2 separate regions of the Homo sapiens genome follow, and region 1 is linked to region 2. Evidence: promoter capture Hi-C in 16 types of primary human blood cells and fetal thymus (Javierre and others, 2016). All regions are on one chromosome and are shown on one strand. Each heading gives the region's core, a stretch centred on a gene start or on the middle of the fragment in contact. The rest is flanking DNA. Distances are from core to core; before and after follow the strand shown.

Evidence for each region. Contacts are between HindIII fragments. The CHiCAGO score rates a contact against its expected background, and 5 or more counts as called.
Region 1: the fragment with the promoter of OR4C15 here is called in contact with the fragment with the promoter of OR5W2 in region 2 in 4 of 17 cell types (neutrophils, total CD4 T cells, naive CD8 T cells and 1 more); the score reaches 5.9 in neutrophils.

What each region holds. Positions count from the first base shown.
Region 1 is chr11:55,552,812-55,558,338 of GRCh38, forward strand. It overlaps OR4C15 (olfactory receptor family 4 subfamily C member 15), which reads left to right and starts at 1,658. Exons shown (of 1, transcript NM_001001920.3): 1 at 1,658-2,608. The coding sequence starts at 1,658. The coding sequence ends at 2,608. The HindIII fragment of the contact is 1,344 bases long and covers 326-1,669 here.
Region 2 is chr11:55,911,006-55,916,766 of GRCh38, forward strand. OR5W2 (olfactory receptor family 5 subfamily W member 2) reads right to left here and starts at 3,577. Exons shown (of 1, transcript NM_001001960.1): 1 at 2,645-3,577. The coding sequence starts at 3,577. The coding sequence ends at 2,645. The HindIII fragment of the contact is 7,753 bases long and covers 1,113-5,761 here.

The DNA.
Region 1 (5,527 bases), core at 408-2,907, 360 kb before region 2:
ACATACACAATTGTATATTTGTTAGTTTTATTAACATTTTAAATTGTTTCTGTTAACTCCAAGTGACATTCATAAAAATCAGCTTATTTAAATCTCAAAATAAATCTCTTTATTCTTTTTTATTCACTTATTTTTTAACAAAGGTGTATACACATATAAATATACACATATACAAATATTCAAACACACACTTATATATGGTAATTGAAAAACACATTTCAATTATATATATATAGGTGAAGACAGAATTATCCTTTAAAGCTGTGTCTGCCTGTGGAAATGAAGTCAAAAGTTGGAGAGTAATTATCTAGATGACTCATGAAAAAGCTTTTTGTAGATAAGGTGGCTGACTTTTTAAGTGAGTAAATACAATTGGTAAGAGCACTTTATTATAAGTAAAATTTTCACATTTTCAAATCTGACCATCATCATAATCCTGAGACATGAGCAGGTAAGCTATATATAAACACCTCTGCTACACAATAATGCATATAAAGTTGAAATATACACTTCTTTTAGGAATTAAACTTCATTAGACCTGATTACTTTATATAAATAATTGGAAAATAATTAATAAAGCCTCAAGATTCCGGTTTATATTCAATATATTGTTTCTCTTCCTTACTTATGTGGTTGATGCCAATTTGTACATGCAAGTGTTTGTAGAAAGGCCATTCCTACTTTGAAGTTCTTACTGGAAAAGGAATATCCCCACTCCTTTCCCTGCTGATCTAGTGGAAAGGAATTGGGTGTTGGAGCCTGAGATTTTGTGTTAATATCCCAGATTGTCTGTTATTTGCTTAAACTTAACTTCTTTAAGCATGAGTTTCCCACCAATCAAATAGGAATAATAAGACCTAATGCAGACCATTCCCTAGGGCAGTCGGTCCTTAGCCTTCCATTGTTTCACCAGTTATCATAACAACATTCTGTTGTAGGCATTATTACTTTTATAATAATAATAAACTTCTGTTTTCATTTTAAAATGACAGATTTAAGAAAACACTCCGCACTTAATGCATACTTTTTATGTTTTAAATGTCAGGCTAGAGATTTTTCTAAAGATCTTTCTCTTTTGTAAAGAATGAATTCAGTTAAGACTTTTAAAGAAATATTTGAAGAGCAGCCATAATTTTTAAGTGCCTCTTGAACTATACGCTGTTTTCTTCTAGTTGCAGATAAAGCAGTCTCCCGATTAGGAATGGGATGCTGGTCATCCCTGCTCTCATTTGATGCCAATGGCAGAAATAAGTAATAAGTTACAATGCTCCTTCTCTCAAAATTTAGAGGTAACTTCAGAATACTTCTCAATAATTCACTCCAGGAAGCCACTAGTAAATGATCAAAGCTGGCACTTGATATGAAAACTCTTTCTCTTCTCTACCACATATCCTTCCCCCATATTGAACCTCTTGTTTCTTTCAAGTATTCTTTAAATTATCTCTATCACAATTCTGTCTGATATTTCAGTACTACCTTCAATAATTTCTAATTTATGTTCTCAATGACAACAGAAGCACTCAATAATTTTGCACTTGGATGTACCAACTTGTTAATGACTATGATACCACAAATTGATCTGAAGCAAATTTTCCTTTGTCCTAATTGCAGACTATACATGATCCCTGTTGGAGCTTTCATCTTTTCCTTGGGAAACATGCAAAACCAAAGCTTTGTAACTGAGTTTGTCCTCCTGGGACTTTCACAGAATCCAAATGTTCAGGAAATAGTATTTGTTGTATTTTTGTTTGTCTACATTGCAACTGTTGGGGGCAACATGCTAATTGTAGTAACCATTCTCAGCAGCCCTGCTCTTCTGGTGTCTCCTATGTACTTCTTCTTGGGCTTCCTGTCCTTCCTGGATGCGTGCTTCTCATCTGTCATCACCCCAAAGATGATTGTAGACTCCCTCTATGTGACAAAAACCATCTCTTTTGAAGGCTGCATGATGCAGCTCTTTGCTGAACACTTCTTTGCTGGGGTGGAGGTGATTGTCCTCACAGCCATGGCCTATGATCGTTATGTGGCCATTTGCAAGCCCTTGCATTACTCTTCTATCATGAACAGGAGGCTCTGTGGCATTCTGATGGGGGTAGCCTGGACAGGGGGCCTCTTGCATTCCATGATACAAATTCTTTTTACTTTCCAGCTTCCCTTTTGTGGCCCCAATGTCATCAATCACTTTATGTGTGACTTGTACCCGTTACTGGAGCTTGCCTGCACTGATACTCACATCTTTGGCCTCATGGTGGTCATCAACAGTGGGTTTATCTGCATCATAAACTTCTCCTTGTTGCTTGTCTCCTATGCTGTCATCTTGCTCTCTCTGAGAACACACAGTTCTGAAGGGCGCTGGAAAGCTCTCTCCACCTGTGGATCTCACATTGCTGTTGTGATTTTGTTCTTTGTCCCATGCATATTTGTATATACACGACCTCCATCTGCTTTTTCCCTTGACAAAATGGCGGCAATATTTTATATCATCTTAAATCCCTTGCTCAATCCTTTGATTTACACTTTCAGGAATAAGGAAGTAAAACAGGCCATGAGGAGAATATGGAACAGACTGATGGTGGTTTCTGATGAGAAAGAAAATATTAAACTTTAAAAAATCCAAAGTTAAGAGTAAAAAAGGTCAAAATGGCCTTAAATAAAAACTTAATGAGATACATCTTTCATGGCAAGAGATAAAGTAATGCTAGAAAAAAATCATTAATGTGGGATCAGAAAACTTATGTGTCCACCCTCAGAAAGCACAAATATGCACCTCCTCAGTCACCTATATAGGCCTAGTCTTACCCCGTGACTCCAAGGGCTCACAACCAACTGCATATTGCACCTCCACTCCCTTCCACCTCTGCAAACTAAGCAAGACATTCTCTCTTTTCTAGGACTAGTGGTTTATTTTAGGCTCTGGGTTCCCTCCTTCACTCTACTTGCCAAACCGTTATACCAGGCGGCTAAAGGCCCTCTCCATGAGCCTTTAAACCCCACACAGCCTATTACCCAACATTTCCATCCTCCAGAAGGCTCTCACATCAGCCCCCATTCTCACTCTCCCAGACCTCACCAAACCTTTCTCCCTCTATACCGCTAACCAGCATGGAGTTGCAGTAGGTGTTCTAACCCAGTCTAAGGGACCCATCTTCCAGGTTGTTGCCTACCTCTCTAATCAGCTTAAAGCTGCAGTTCATGGATGGCTTGCTTGTCTCTGAGCTTGGCAGCAGCTGCTGTCCTCACTCTTGAAAGCCTAAAATGATCTCTCCATGCCAACCTAACAGTCGATTCAACCTGAAACATCAAAGACATGTTAGCTCACTGCTGTGTACTAAGTCTCATCTCTGCCCCACAGCTCTTCCAACTGTATGCTCTATTCATAGAAACTCCCCACATTACCATGCTAACCAGCTCCCATCTAAACCCAGCCATGCTCTTACCTGAAGCTACAACCACCCAAGACCCTATACAATTCGGTGTGAATGCTGCTCTTACATTTTTCCAAACATAACAGACCAACACCTTCCAGATGCCTCCTTTACTTGGTTTGTAGATTACCCAGTCCTGCTCTGTCTGCTACTCAGTATCACCCCAAGGTTCCCTCCAGCCACAGCCTTTTCCTACCCACCAAGCCTGGGGCCTGGTATCCAGGCAAGATTGGCAAGTAGACTTCACTCACATACTGCCCAATAAATGGTTCTACTATCTTCTAGTCTTTGTCTGTACTTTCTTCGGGTTGGTAGAAGTGTTCCCAACAACTTCAGAACATGCAAATGTCATCACACAAACTCTCATCATGCATATAACTCCCCATTTTGAACTCCCAACATGCATCCAATCCAATAACAGGCCCGCCTTTTATCAGCCAAATTACCTAAGGCGTCTCTACACCCTTCAGGCCTCAATCTTCAGGCAAAGTTGGAAAGGTCAACTCTGTCCTTAATGCCCAACTCACCATGCTGGCCTTAGAAACCTGCTAGTCGTGGACAAAAAAAAAGTTCCCTTTTACCCTCGTGAGACTCCATGCAACACCAAAAGCACCCTTTTTATAGTCCCTTTGAAATCATGTGTGGCCAAACTTTAGTCTTAGGGCCTTCACCCTTACCAGACTCTGAGCCACTCAGGAGTTACCTCTCCTCCTTAATCCAGACATGGTCTTTCATTAGTGAAACAGCAAATGAGGCCATACCTCTCCCTGTAGACACCTCCTTGTCCTCTCAACATAAATGTCTTGCAGGCACAGACATATTTATCTGCCAACCTGACCCTCACCAAAAACTACAACTGAAGTGGACAGGTCCCTTACACTGTGATACTCAGCACACCAACTGCAGTGAGAGTCTAAGGAATCCCCCACTGGGCCCATCACACCAGAGTCAAGCTCACCCCCAAGGCTACTCCTTCCTCCAAAACATTAACTGCGGTTAACACACTGGGAGTCCCTGTGTATAATAACCTAAACAAAGAAAAATGATCCTTAAAGGTAGGAGGAAGCTAAAGATGGCAAGAAGACGAATGGCCTCCATAATGAATCATTGAATATTACTGTCCTGGCACTTGGGCTGAGGATGTTTCATGGTGTTATCTCACTCCCATATATATGCTAATTAGAATAATTAGATGACAGGCAGTTTTAGAGATAATCGCTAACCAAACTGCCTCAGCCCTGGAAATGCAAGCACAACAACAAAACCAAATGCACGTGTCAATTTATCAAAACAGGCCATTGCTAGATTAGCAGAAGAATGTGGGGTCTGTGGCAAGTTTAATATCTCCAATTGCTGTCTTAACATAGATGATCATGGAAAAGTGGTTCTTGAAATCACTTCAAACATCGGAAAAGTAGCCCATGTACCAGTCCAAACCTGGAAGGGATGGGACCCAACAAACCTTCTAGGAGGGTGGTTCTCTAATTAAGGAGGATTTAAAATACTGGTAGGTACAGCAATCTTCAACAATGGGTTCCTTCTGTTTTTTCCCCTGTGTTATCCCACTAATAGTAAAAGCCATTAAATCTCTTGTTGAAACTACATTTAGTTGCCAGACAATCTAGATGATGCTCCTCCTGTAACGACACAATGGATATCAACTGGTCTCTCAAGAATACCCCCAAAATTAAGTTTTTCTTTTTCTAAGGGGCCCACACCACGCCTATGTCAGGCCTGAAGTAGTTATTGAAAATGTCGTTCCTTTTCCTTTTTCTATAAGCAAATAGACAGGAATGAAAGATTTCTCCCCATGGCTGGAAAACTTGGGGGGATGAATAACTCCTCCCTTCTCAGGCCGAGTCTCAAGGTGCAATGCTACTTCTGCCAGCAGTGTGTGTCAGCAAGATAGCAGAAGCAGGAGGAGAGCCAGCTGGAGGACATGTACCCTGCCTGGAAGACACCTACCCTGGACAGAAGACATGTACCCTAGGAGGAAGACACATATACCTGAAAATCGAGAAAGAGGCCGTCTGGGTACTATGTGCAGTAACGTCAGACTGGGATGCTTTCTGTTTACAGGAGATTATAAAACTGTTGCCCCA
Region 2 (5,761 bases), core at 2,327-4,826:
ACAAGCTAGAACGGATCAAAGCCTTGTAATAAATGTTTTACCTATTTCTGTAGACTCCCAGGATGGAACTGTTAGATCAGGCTATCTGGCCCAAATCTTTATTCAAGTCATGAATATCCTAAGCAATATTCCCAATAAGCGATTTCTCAACCTTTAATTGTACAAATTCAGAGAAATAATGGTTACAATTAATTAATTCAGTTTCTTCCATTTTTAGACCTATGTTTATTGAGCGTAATACCTTGCCTTTGTTGGGGTTGAAATTTCCTTCTCTTTAGGCAACACTCATTATACATGATTAAAGTAGCCAAAAGGCAAATCAAATCAACCTTTTCATGACATAACTGTCATATGTTATATGGAAGGGAGATGACGTGTTTATATCTTAGCAGCAATTCACTAACATTCCAATCTGTCTGGACTTAATAATATTTCAAAGGGTGTTTTCTACCCTGCTGCTGCTCATAAAACAGATTAACAGAAGTGTATTAGTAAATTGAGAAAACATGTCACAAGTGGAAACCCTCCAAACCTGTTTTCCAAAATAAAGCATTCCCCGTAGTTTTTTTTTTTTTTTTTTGCATCAACATACTTATCTATAGCCTGTCACAGTGTCCCACAAATGAAACCTTGCAAAGCAGAGGTGTGTTTTGGGCTTTACTTACATTCTGCAATGTTTTCACAGAAGGACATTTTACAAGGACAGCAAAAAAACCTAAGACTTTCAATGTCTTTTAGATTACACAATCATAAGGGCTAATGAAAAGTGTCATTGAGTTTTGTATGATTTTGCAAACATGTGGCCTCAGCCATGTTTTCTCAACAAGTTTCTCATAGGGTTTTAGCATTATACATTGGAGCAGAGCTGAATGAAAGTAGGTGAACATGAAGAAAGCACCCACATGAATGCCTGTAACTTCCTATGTAATTACTATGCATGTCTTTGTAGACTCATCACCTTGGTATCCATAACCATTTCATTTACTTAGAGCTTAGTGATGAGAAAACATGGGCACATAGAGGAGGCCTTTTGGAGACACACACTGGGGCCTTTTGGAGCGTGGAGGGTGGGAGACAGGAGAGGATTAGGAAAAAATAACTAATGGGTACTAAGCTTTTTACCTGGGTTTTGTATGATTTTGCAAATATATGGCCACATTCCTAGGTTAGGAAATAATCTGTACAACAAACCCCCATGACACAAGTTTACCAATGTAACAAACTTTCACTTGTACCCCTAAATTTAAAAGTTTTTTAAAAACCTATAAAATATATATTCAAAGCACACATTATACCCTCACTTAACTAGACTTTGATATCTCACAAACATTCAAAAATGTTATACCGTGTGTTGGTTTTTATTATTTATCTATTTTTCCATTTGGTGACCCAGAAACCATGCAGATGCTTTGGTTGGGATGACAGGCATAACACATGCAGTCTTTGAGCAAAGAATGCTTGCAGTCTCACACTCGTGGTGTTTGTTCAATAAACAGACTGATAGATAGAATAGTACCTTTGAAAGAGTATTATATATGAACCACAAGAGGGACATTTAAATAGGGCTAGAAATAGGAAGAAGGGAAGAGAAGCAGAGTGGAAATGAATAGAGAATATCAACTCAACTAGACTTTACTGCATGTACCACTTTATCCTTCAATTCTTACATGTTGGACTTCCTTTCCTCTAAAAAGGCATTGCCCTGTCCACCTCAGGATGTCTAATTTTCAGCCTCTCTATCTAGAATCCTTTCTTCTCTCCACCCACCCATTGGATCTCTATGAATTTTTAGATCTAAAACCAAATGTCCCCATTTCAAAGAATCTTTTCTTTTCTTCACTCTAGTTAGACATTTTGTTTATGCTTACAGTACCCTGCCTTTTGACTTCATGGCCTTTTATAGTTTATTATGAATTATTGGTTAGTTTGATTAATTAAATGTTTCCACTATATTCTATGACTCACTAGTACAGAATATAGTGGATTCAGCATGAAATGCAAAGTACACAGCAATGTGAAAGGCATGTACTAAACACTCAATAAGTCTTAGAAAAATTACTGCCTGTCACGCCCGTAATCCCACCACTTTGTGGGGCCAAGATGGGTGGATCGCCTGAGGTCAGGAGTTCGAGACCAGCCTGGTCAAAATGTTGGAACCCCATCTCTACTGAAAACACAAAAATTAGCCGGGCCTGGTGGCAGGCACCTGTAATCCCAGCTACTCGGGAGGCTGAAGCATGAGAATCACTTGAACCAGGGAGGCGGAGGTTGCAGTGAGCCGAGATTGCACCACTACACTCCAACCTGGGCAATAGGGTCAGATTCCATCACAAAAAAAAAAAGAAAAGAAAAAAAGAAAAATTACTCTGAAATATATATTAAACAAATAAAAATTTGCCCCACTAACTCAAAGACTGGAGCATTTTTCAAATATAGAGAAATTACCTTACCTAAATTGAAAACACATTAAAAAAATAGCATATTTAGACAATTCCAGAGAATTGCTAGATTGTGGCTGAGTAAAATATGTATTATATTAAATTAGGGTATTTGAGACAACTTTATGTTATAATATATAATTTGAAGAAAACACCAGTATGAATATGCATTTTTGTGTGTATAAACATGTATTTTTACTATTTCCTTAAAATAAAATTTTATTTTTCAGTTTTTTCAGGGCCTCTTTCACATCCTTGTTCCTCAGGCTATAAATCAGGGGGTTCAACATGGGAACCACAAGGGTGTAAAACAATGAGGTCATTTTATCTTGATCTAGAGAATAGGAAGAACTTGGCCGGAAATACATAAAGAGCAGAGTTCCCTGGAAAATTGCAACCGCAGATAAGTGGGAAGTGCATGTAGAGAGAGCTTTGAACCTCCCCTCAGCAGAGTGTATCTCCAAGACTGATAGGATGATATAACAATAAGAAATGAAAACTCCTGAAATGGTACTCAGTTCAATAAAACCAAAGACGGTGAATAACACTAACTCATTGACCTGTGTATCTGAGCGAGAGAGTAATAAGAGAGGAGGGATATCACAGAAGAAATGATTAATCTCATTAGACCCACAGAAGCATAGGCGGAAGGCCAGTGTCATATGTATCAAAGCATCTGCTATTCCCACCAGATAAACCCCAGTCAAGAGTAGATAGCACACTCTGCTAGACATGTTGACTGTATAGAGCAGGGGGTTGATGATGGCCTTGTACCGATCAAAGGCCATCACTGACAGCAGTAGACACTCAGAATCTGCAAAGATACAGAAGACCAAGAATTGCAGAGCACAGCCATAGAAGGGTATTGACTTGTTCTTGGCAAGTAGATCTACCAGCATCTTGGGCCCAGTTGCAGTAGAATAGCAGAGATCACAGAAAGACAGATGACTGAGGAAGAAATACATTGGTGTGTGAAGTTGGTAATCCATTCTGATTAAAACTATCATTCCAAGATTTGCTGAGAAATTAATGATATAAACAGCCAAGAATACAGCAAATAGGGTCACTTTCATCTCTGGGTTATTGGTAATTCCCAAGAGAAAAAAATCAGTTAATGAGGAGCAATTTTCCCAGTCCATTCTTCCTTGTTCTTGTTTCAAACTGCTACAGAAATCATTACGAGAATGACAGTCTAGAACTTGACTTTCCAAGATATCAAAAAAAAAATTATCTGTAAAGTAGAACAAGATTTGTTTATGTAAATTATCTTCTTTACCCTCAAAAAGTATCCCAGGTGAGTGTCACTTTCAAAGAGGCATTATTACTGTATTAAAAAAAAAAAACCCTAAAAGTGTCTGCCAAAGGAAGTTGATCAACTTTGAATCTAAACTTACATGCAATTTCTGACATATATCATTTGTCTTTGCTTCTATTGTACAATCTAAGGCAGTCAATTTGATTAAACTGAAAGCTCAGTACAGATCCAAAAGGATGTGAAAGAAACACCATAGTTAGAGTCACAAGGGCCAGAACATACCGGACTAAGCATCTCATATATTTGACAAAAAAGGATCATATTTATTGCATTATTCAAGAAATATATACATTTTTCTACCACTGACAGTGATATTACATGTAAGTTAATAAGAGAAAATTATTATGGTACTGTTTTTGATGTGGTGTCGTTAGTGCTTACTGGAAAAGAAAAATGTTTTATTTAACTGTTACTCATCATCACTGGTTTGTCACAGCATTTATAATCCATTTGGATGACTTATCTGGTTCTAAAAAACAAAAGCCAAATGTAAGTGGTAAAAGAAGTGTGAACAACAGACTACTTATATTTGCTTATAATTGACTTTTTCATTAAAATCAAAATGTGAAGAACAATAAGTGTTTCTGAAATATATAGGCTTCTGTTGCTTGTGTTATATGTGCACTTACTCTTGTGTGTGTGTGTGTGCCTGTGTGTGTCTGTTATATGAAAATTGAAATGTGGGGTGGGTCTGATTGTTATTTCTTCTAGACTTAAATATTATGGCATGTACCTTAAGAACTTGAATTTTCATAAATTAATATCTGTAATGTGTTACCTCTATTATTATTTGAGTAAATCTAGAACCTATCTTAAATTTACATCTAAAATAATATCACAGGTACAGTGATTTTTTAAAGTAATGATTTACTTATGAAGGTTGATTAAAATATAAATGGGTGAAATCTATATTATCCTCTTACAATGACAAGTAAGGTCAGTCAAATTCACACAGATCCAATAAGAAAATATCATTGTTTGGCCATTAGATTCCAGAGGTGCTTCAACTGAGTAAGCATCTATAAAATCATTCATTTGTAAATTCCTTAATACATGATTTCTTATTTTTCCAAAATTTTTCCTCTGTCCTTTAAATTGATCATTCAGAAACCTACCTGAGATGAGCAAGTCTTTCTGTCCTTACCTCTGGTATGTGAACAATAGGCAGATCACATTTTATTTTTACTGGTGACTGTTGGGACATAAATCTCTCAAGCCTCTGCCTTCACTCCTTTATGTTATTCAAACATGATTAATTAGATTCCTAGTTCTGTATTTTCCCCAGTGAATGCTGCAACTAGTTTACCAAAGGCTCCATTTTTAATTTTTCAGCTTTATCACCAAATTGACCAATGTTAGAAATTTATCAGAATTCATTTAACAGTATGCTTCATGGTTATCATGAAATAAGACAGCCAATGAAACTTGAGTAGATTTTCAACTTAATGGTTTTCTTGTCCTTTTCATTGTTCATCCTGTTTCTTCCACTTCTGAAAATCTCCTTCATCTCCCATTTAGAAATAAGATAATCTAACATGCTGCTTTTTTTCATTAATCATTGTCTGAGTACTTTTTCCCCAACTACAGTGACAACTACCCTCATTTCAATTATTTTATGGATGTACAACATCCGTCACATTGAACACACTTTTTCTTAATTTATATTTTATTTGTCTGTTGGCCTAGGTGTCTCTCTACATTCCCACAATCTCTAGCACAGAGATATGTGTGAGTAATGTATGTTTTTAAATGTGATTGTGTGATGTTAAATATTTTCTGCTTATTAGGCTGGTAATGTTCAACCAAGAATAAACATAAACAAACTTTCAGGTCTGTTTCTCCTAATATAGTTGATATGTACAAAGATGATTATTTAAAAGAAAACGTGGCCCTGCGCGGTGGCTCAAGCCTGTAATCTCAGCATTTTGGGAGGCCGAGGCGGGAGGTCAGGAGATCGAGACCATCCTGGCTAACATGGTGAAACCCCGTCTCTACTAAAAGATACAAA